2 separate regions of the Homo sapiens genome follow, and region 2 is linked to region 1. Evidence: promoter capture Hi-C in 16 types of primary human blood cells and fetal thymus (Javierre and others, 2016). All regions are on one chromosome and are shown on one strand. The core of a region is centred on a gene start or on the middle of the fragment in contact, and the rest is flanking DNA. Distances in the headings are between cores, read along the strand shown.

Evidence for each region. The method cuts DNA at HindIII sites, captures the fragments that hold promoters and counts their contacts. A CHiCAGO score of 5 or more calls a contact.
Region 2: a contact is called between a fragment that was not itself captured here and the fragment with the promoter of DGUOK in region 1, in 1 of 17 cell types (total CD4 T cells). The highest score is 5.4, in total CD4 T cells.

The regions. Positions count from the first base shown.
Region 1 is chr2:73,924,910-73,929,197 of GRCh38, forward strand. It overlaps DGUOK (deoxyguanosine kinase), which reads left to right and starts at 1,971. Exons shown (of 7, transcript NM_080916.3): 1 at 1,971-2,143. The coding sequence starts at 2,002. RefSeq lists an enhancer at 2,003-2,272. The HindIII fragment of the contact is 7,290 bases long and covers 650-4,288 here.
Region 2 is chr2:74,530,627-74,534,914 of GRCh38, forward strand. HTRA2 (HtrA serine peptidase 2) reads left to right here. Exons shown (of 8, transcript NM_013247.5): 2 at 1-195; 3 at 285-479; 4 at 713-745; 5 at 971-1,076; 6 at 1,230-1,299; 7 at 1,993-2,088; 8 at 2,194-2,693. The coding sequence ends at 2,359. LOXL3 (lysyl oxidase like 3) reads right to left here. Exons shown (of 14, transcript NM_032603.5): 10 at 3,905-4,148; 11 at 3,690-3,805; 12 at 3,474-3,610; 13 at 3,256-3,367; 14 at 1,632-3,053. The coding sequence ends at 2,980. Among named protein-coding and RNA genes, the nearest start is that of HTRA2, 2.8 kb to the left of the region's middle. RefSeq lists enhancers at 14-83, 114-193, 204-413. The HindIII fragment of the contact is 295 bases long and covers 1,729-2,023 here.

The DNA.
Region 1 (4,288 bases), core at 721-3,220:
AATAATTTTTAGGAGCTCTGTTACTGGTGGAGGGTGCCCAGGTTCTTGACATTTTGAACAAAGAATTGGACAAAACGTACAAAGCAAGGAAACAATGAAGCAACAAAAGCACAGATTTATTGTACATCAAAGAACACTCCTTGCGGTAGGAAGGGCCCAAGCAAGCAGCAATTACAGAATTTTCTGGGGTTTAAATACCTTCTAGAGGTTTCCCATTGGTTACCTGGTGTACACCCTATGTAAATGAAGTAGTGGCCAGCGATCAGTCTGATTGGTTGCAGGAGGGGACCAATCAGAGGCTGAAGTAAAGTTATGAAGTTATACCCCATGCAACTAAAGACTTGGCCTGCCACCAGCCTGACTGATTGCCCGCGGGGACCAGTCAGAGGTACTTTCAATTTTTTATCTGCCACCCAGAAGAGGGATTAGCTTCTGGTCCTTTTGTTACTTGGGCTAGAAAGTTGGGGTTTTCCTTTTGATTTAGTTCTAGGAAGTCAGCCTAAATCGGCCTTAGGTTCCCTGTCTCCAGACCCTATTTTCCTGCCTCGTAGCTTTTAGGAGATTAATGCCTGCCTGCAGACAACTTCCTCATTTAACTTTCACAACACCCCTGAGGCAGCAAGATCCTGGCGAGGCAGAGAGCCTCTCAAGCTTTTTTGGATGAATATTTTCCAAGTCTGAGTTTACATAGGTAAAGAAATGTAAGCAGTTTTTTTTTTGTTTTTTGTTTTGTTTTGTTTTGTTTTGTTTTGTTTTAACAGAAGTGGCTGCTGGAGTGGAGATGGGAATGGGTAGGACTTTAGCCGCTCCAGTAGCCATTAACGCCCCACCCTGGTTATCCTTAAAAAATTCGATTAAAAAAAAAGTTCTTAATATATAAACATGACCTCAGCCATCCTATATATACATCAACATAAGAAAAAGGTCCCGTGCTTTTTATGGGAACAGCTTCAAGACAGGTATCCCAGCCCCCGGCCCCTCCCCAGCCCCCTTGCAATCAGATCCTTGTCTTCTAAAACCTGCCACACCTAAGAGCGCTGCCTGAAGGCCGGTTTGGCCTGTTGACTCCTGGTTTTGACTGTTGGTGATTTAAGCGATTGGAACTGGAAGCACCATTTGACAACATTTTGTAAATCATTACTTCTGAGGTTGTTATGACGACGGGGTGTGGCAGTCCGGCTTCACCTGTGGCAGCAGCTTAGGTCCCTGCCCTCCTGCAGAGCACACTTCACCGACAGCAGGACTCAGGTTTTATACAAGTCTCTACTCGCCATTGCTTACGTCCAAGAACCCAGCCTACCAGGTTTAAACAATTTCCAGTCACATACCTGAGCCACCACCACCTTATCCTGAAGGGATTTTTGGGTATAATGCAAATCGATTGACCGAACATTTATTTACTTATTCAAGACACAAACTAAGAGATGGGGTGTAACTGATTATCTAATTTGTTAATTTAGTCAATAATATGCCAGCATTGTGCAGGGGAATTACAGGGAATAGGAAAAAGTTAAATTTGTGTAAATCATCAGATTGAGTCATTTTCCTACTTTAAAACTTCCATTTTCTTCCGATATTAAAATAAAAACCAGACAACAAGCACCTGGGGGGGGGGAAATCCCCTCTTAAAATTACAATTTCTATTTTTAATTTTGTCTTCAGTTATAAAATTTATTTTAAAGTTATACAAAAATGAAGTGGTTGGATTGTGGAATTACGTCTTTTAAAATGTTATTTGTCCAATGAACAAAAACCACTCGCACCGCAACTCCTTTTACTATCAAATTCTGCACCGTTGCAAAACTTCCTTCACTCAACGCTTCTTTACAAACATCGCGATAGCGGAGCGGTCTCTTGGGCGCACCCCGCCGCATGTTCAACCCCACCCACTTCCTGTCTGACGATCTCCTTACGTCAACGGTGCGCTGGAGCGAGTGAGCAGCGATACCTAGGGCGGAAGTGCTCTCGGCGGAAGTGATCGCTGTGTGAATCGTGGGTGGGATGGCCGCGGGCCGCCTCTTTCTAAGTCGGCTTCGAGCACCCTTCAGTTCCATGGCCAAGAGCCCACTCGAGGGCGTTTCCTCCTCCAGAGGCCTGCACGCGGGGCGCGGGCCCCGAAGGCTCTCCATCGAAGGCAACATTGGTAAGGGCCGGAAAGCGGCTGCCAAGCCTTGGCCTCCGCCACGCAGGCGACAGAGGCTGGGAAAGGAGCTGGGCCCGGAATGGCCTGCGTCTGATGCGGCCGGCCTCTTTTTCTGGGCTGCGAGGAGAGCCTTTCCCCTCGCAAAGTGCACTGTGTATCTTTGCCTCCTTGTTTTTAGGATATCGGGCCTCAGTACCCGCCCACAGGAACATATTTGTTGGGGCATAAAAGCCACGCAGTTAGTGGATAGGACAAGAATTGTATTAGCTGTTTGTAATAGATCGAAATTGAAGCGACAAGCGGGTGCAGTTTATTTGTTCTCCTAGATAGGGTTGCCATATTTAGCAGAAATTAAAAATAATATCCAGTTAAAATAGAATTTAAGATAACGAATAATTTTTAGTGTGTGTCCAATGCAATATTTGGGACATCCTTACAGCAAAACAACAACGAAATCACTCATTGAAAGTTCAAATTTAACTGTGTCCTGTATTTTATCTGGCAACCCTATTCGAAGAGAGTTCCTAAATTTCAGTCGTTCAAATACCACATTCACAATTTTTGCCCTGTGCCTGTGCTAGTTGCATAATAATTTCTTAAGGCTTTTCTTAGAAGAACCTCACTTTTTAAACTTAAAAACATGTATTAAATTAAAAATTATTTTGTTAAAAGAGTGAGATCCAGTATCTTGAATAAAAAGTAGTCAGAAAGCAAAATGAAGGCAAAGCATTTCGATTTAATATTAATAAATTCTGACTTGATACTTTTATCTACCAAGTCACTGAGCCCCTAAAAGGGGCTTAGCAAGTGTTGAGTACTGAAGACGTAGCAGCAAACTGAGAATTTCTTTTTTTATTCATTCAACAAATCACCTTTTGAGCCACTTCCATATGCCAGCACTGTTCTTGGCCTGGAGAATACAGCTGTGAATAGAACAAATAAAAATCTCTGCTCTCATGGAACTCAAGTAGGGAGAGATGGACAATAAACAACATAAATTAAGCAAGGTGAACAATATGTTAGAGAGTAATAAGTATGATGGAGAAAAATTAGGGATGAAGAATTGAGGGAAGTTTTTATTTTATTTTATTTGAGATGGAGTTTTGCTCTTGTTACCCAGGCTGGAGTGCAATGACACGATCTCGACTCACTGCAACCTCTGCCTCCCTGGTTCAAGCGATTCTCCTGCCTCAGCCTCCCGAATAGCTGGGATTAGGGGCACCCGCCACCACACCCAGTTAATTTTTGTTTTGTTAGTAGAGACAGGGTTTCACCATGTTGGCCAGGCTGGTCTCAAACTCCTAACCTCAGGTGATCCGCCTGCCTCGGCCTCCCAAAGTGCTGGGATTATAGGCGTTAGCCACTGCACCTGGCCGAAGTTGTCATTTTAAATAAAATAAGCAAGGCCTCACTGAGAAGGTGACATCTGAGCAAAAAACTGAAGATGAGGGAGCAAATCACGTGGATACCTGGGAGAAGAATCTTCTAGGCAGAGTGAAGAGCAATTGGAAAGGCCCTGAGGTGGAAAGTGTGTTCGGGGAATAGGAGGGAAATCGTTGTGACTGAAGTCGAGTGAGCAAGGATGGGAGGGAAATTAGGGCAAAAGCCCAAGGGGTGGCCAGATTTTATAGGCCTTATCATGGGTTTTTAATCTTACCGAGATGGGTAGCCATTGGAAGGTTTGAGGAGTCAAGTGACAGTTTTACTTAGATTATAAAAAGATCACTGTGGCTGATAACATTGAAAGTGAAGAGTGTTAAGTGGTATTGCAATAATTATAGTATTGTGAAAAGTGAAAGTGGTGAGACGTGATTGGATTCTAGTTATACGTTAACAAAAATTGAGTTACATTTTAAGTAAAATTTAACAGTGGAAGTGGTGAGAAATGATTGGGTTCTAGTTATATTTTAAGATAGGGCCAATTGGATTTGGTGACAGGTTGAATGCAGAGTGTAAGGTAAAGAGAGGGGCCAATGATGACTCCAATTATTTTGACTTGAGTACTTGAAAGATAGACTCCTGATTTTCTTTTATTTCCTCCTCTCCTTCTTCCTCCCCTCCCCTCGCTTCCCCTCCTTTGGTGTGGTCTTGCCCTGTTGCCAGGCTAGAATACAGTGATGCAATTGCATCTCACTGCAGCCTGCC
Region 2 (4,288 bases), core at 626-3,125, 610 kb after region 1:
TTGGGCCGCGAGGTCCCTATCTCGAACGGCTCAGGATTCGTGGTGGCTGCCGATGGGCTCATTGTCACCAACGCCCATGTGGTGGCTGATCGGCGCAGAGTCCGTGTGAGACTGCTAAGCGGCGACACGTATGAGGCCGTGGTCACAGCTGTGGATCCCGTGGCAGACATCGCAACGCTGAGGATTCAGACTAAGGTGGGGGCTGGGGTAGGCCAGGTCTGGTTGGAGCTGCTTATTTGCTCGCATCTTCAGATGACAGGTCTCTTTTACCCATTCTCCCTTAGGAGCCTCTCCCCACGCTGCCTCTGGGACGCTCAGCTGATGTCCGGCAAGGGGAGTTTGTTGTTGCCATGGGAAGTCCCTTTGCACTGCAGAACACGATCACATCCGGCATTGTTAGCTCTGCTCAGCGTCCAGCCAGAGACCTGGGACTCCCCCAAACCAATGTGGAATACATTCAAACTGATGCAGCTATTGATGTGCGTCCTGATAGGAGAGAAATGACAAATGATGGGGGAGGGGGGAGAGGCTGTGTGGTACAAGCACCAACTGATATATGGTGGATGAGCCTATATAGAGCTTAGGCTGCAAAAATGTGGCCACTTATTCATGGGCTGAGAAAGAAGAGAATTTGGAGAAAGTACCTACATCCTGGTATGCCCCCAGACTTAGAATCCCCAGATCTCTTTCATGTTTTCTCCTTGTCCTACAGTTTGGAAACTCTGGAGGTCCCCTGGTTAACCTGGTGAGTGAGACATCCTTCCTTCCAAGAATCCCTGCCCCAGGTCAGTGTGGGAAGGGTAGGTTTCCCCTAATTCAAGGATGTTTGGTCAAGTTTCTGAGCAGTTCTTTGTTGGCTATCTCTCAATATCCAACCAGATCTCCCCAACACTTGCTGGTACTTTTGTTCGGGTGCCCCCATCCCCTACTATTTGTTTAGGCTAGGGAACTGGGGGCTGTATCCCTGCAGGATGGGGAGGTGATTGGAGTGAACACCATGAAGGTCACAGCTGGAATCTCCTTTGCCATCCCTTCTGATCGTCTTCGAGAGTTTCTGCATCGTGGGGAAAAGAAGAGTGAGCCTGCCTTATGGGGAAACGGGTTCCTTTAATGTGGTGGAAATAGGGGAAGGGCATTCAGTGGGACTTCCTGGAGGGTGGTCTACTGGGAGAAGAGGGCAGGGAAGGAAGGATGTAGCTGGGTGGGGCTCATTTGTCCCTCTGTCACAGATTCCTCCTCCGGAATCAGTGGGTCCCAGCGGCGCTACATTGGGGTGATGATGCTGACCCTGAGTCCCAGGTATGAGCTTTAGGGACAGTGACATGTAATGTGACCAGTGTAATCAGAGGGGGGCACCTCTATTGAGCTTTGTTCTCATTTCTGTCTTTATCTAAGATGAACTGTGTCACACTTGAAATAATCACAAGAGCTGTCTCCCTTCATCATCTTGACTTTCTTATCCCACTCCACTTTGTACACCTGTCACCAGATTGATTTCATCCTGTTACTGCTTTGATTTCAAGCCTTCAATCCATTAACTTGGCATTTAAGGGCCATTTTCCATCTGTCTGTAAATCAACTTTCTAGACCTGGCTGTAATACCTTCCTATATGAATACTCAGCCAACCTGATTTCCTACTCCCATGTTTTTTATTTATGCTGTTCTTGTTTTATATGGTTAATATCAGATCCATCCTTTTAGGCTCAACTTAAGTTCTTTCCCCTTAAAGCTTCTCTTAGTATTCTAGAATGACATTAGTGCTATTGATTTAACACTGTTTGTCATTTGGTGCCCTCATGTGGTGTACATCTTTTATGTACATGTTGCACTTTATTGCTAGAAGACAGAAAGTGAGTTGCCATTGTATTTTGTAGTACCTAGCCCATGTCCTGTCCATATATTTATCAATGTGTTGATGAGAGACTTGAGGTGGAACTCAGGATGGGGAGAATGCCTGGGTTTGGCTAATAGGGTGATCTGTGTACTTTCAGCATCCTTGCTGAACTACAGCTTCGAGAACCAAGCTTTCCCGATGTTCAGCATGGTGTACTCATCCATAAAGTCATCCTGGGCTCCCCTGCACACCGGTGAGGGAGAGGCTGCAGTGTGATATGGGGATGGGCAAGGTGTGCATGTGTCCTTGAACTAGGCTTTGTACTCCTTCCTTTCTCTCTGTCCATTTTTCTCTATAGGGCTGGTCTGCGGCCTGGTGATGTGATTTTGGCCATTGGGGAGCAGATGGTACAAAATGCTGAAGATGTTTATGAAGCTGTTCGAACCCAATCCCAGTTGGCAGTGCAGATCCGGCGGGGACGAGAAACACTGACCTTATATGTGACCCCTGAGGTCACAGAATGAATAGATCACCAAGAGTATGAGGCTCCTGCTCTGATTTCCTCCTTGCCTTTCTGGCTGAGGTTCTGAGGGCACCGAGACAGAGGGTTAAATGAACCAGTGGGGGCAGGTCCCTCCAACCACCAGCACTGACTCCTGGGCTCTGAAGAATCACAGAAACACTTTTTATATAAAATAAAATTATACCTAGCAACATATTATAGTAAAAAATGAGGTGGGAGGGCTGGATCTTTTCCCCCACCAAAAGGCTAGAGGTAAAGCTGTATCCCCCTAAACTTAGGGGAGATACTGGAGCTGACCATCCTGACCTCCTATTAAAGAAAATGAGCTGCTGCCATCTTTTGTGGGCAGTTAGTCAGGTGCTGCTCTTTGTGGTGTGGTGGGCTCTGGTCTGTTCTGCTCGGTGCTGGGCCTGGGAGCAAAGATTCCCATGCTTGGCTACAGATACTGACAGCTGGCCTCTGAAGGAGGGTGAAAACTTCTGCTTGACAGTTCCACATCCATAGTGCATGGTCTGATGAGTGCGGTTGCTGACATGGGTTTCTTGGTAAGCTCCTGAGGTAATGGCAGCCTCAGACCCCTGCCATTAGGGGCCAGTGGTGGTTTGCAGAGGGCAGTGGCACTTAGATAATCTGGTTGCTGGTCTGGCCAGGGTAGCGTTCAAACCTCCTGTTGGCCTCTTCACTGAAGGCATCACCTGCAGAGTGGACAGGCAATTTGGGAGGCGCCCTGCACAGAGGGAGGGAGATAGATGCACTGTGGAGAAGGGTGGGTAGAAGTGGAGGGACTGAGAGCTCTACAGGAAGGTGGGAAGATGGAGAAACAAGCTATGGAAAAGAGAATGAACGTCTTTCCCTCCCATCCCCTAATCTTCCTGGGTTGCTCTTCCCATCAAATACCAATGTGGCAGTTGTGCACCCAGATTCTATGTCCATCATATTTGCAGTTACATTTCATTGCATTGTTGGTAAAGTCACTCTCTGCTACTTCAAAGTTTGGGTTGATGACAACCTGTGAGTGAGAAAAAGGCCACTTAACCCAGCGACAATCCTCGAATTCAAAGGTGTCTTTAACGCTCCCCCCACTCACCCATCTGGAAGCCCCAGACTCCAGGTACCTGGAGAATGTAGTTTCCTGGCTTCACATCCGTGATGTCAATCCACTGACAGTCAATGTCATGCCGGTAGAGATCCCAGCAACCCACAGTGATGCCTTGCTCTCCAAAGTTGGCACACTCATACCGCTTGGAGACATCTGGAGGGATTGGCATATGTCAGTGTAAGGAAAGGCTGTGCAATGGATACCATGTGGTTCACTTCAGTCCCCAACTCACCCTCCTGACACTCAGTGTCTTCGAGACAGAAACTAGCTTTGTGGCCCTCAGCCACCTTGGTGCCATTTGGGGTGAGGATATCATAGTGAGTGAAGATGTCCATGCTGTGGTAATGCCTGTGGGGAGAAGGGAACTTCTGTTTCCTTCTCTGCCCCCAGAAGGTTTGCCCCATCCCCCGTGGTCTTGCCCTTCTACTTGACTCCCTACCCTCTCACCCATGGCACTCGTGCCACACCCAGGAGTGGCGCCCAGCCTTGGGCCTGAAGTCAGCTCGTCCCAGGTTGTGGATCTGGGAGGAGAATCGGAGCAGACGCCGGTGACCATAGGGCCAGTTGGCTGAGCGGGCTGAGCTGGCCAGGCAGTTCTCTTCCGCAGCACAGTACAACATATGCAGGGGCCGGTCTTCGATGTAGGCGGTCTCCTGCACCAGTGCTGAGTGCAGCAACAGATCTGATGCAGCTGCACCAAGAAAGGAAGGGGGTGTTAGAAGTCACTGCTGACTTCACAGAGAGGGGTGCTTCCATCCCTCCCTAGTGTGTAAGACTAGTTTTTTGTTTTTGTTTTTGTTTGTTTGTTTGTTTGAGATGGAGTCTCACTCT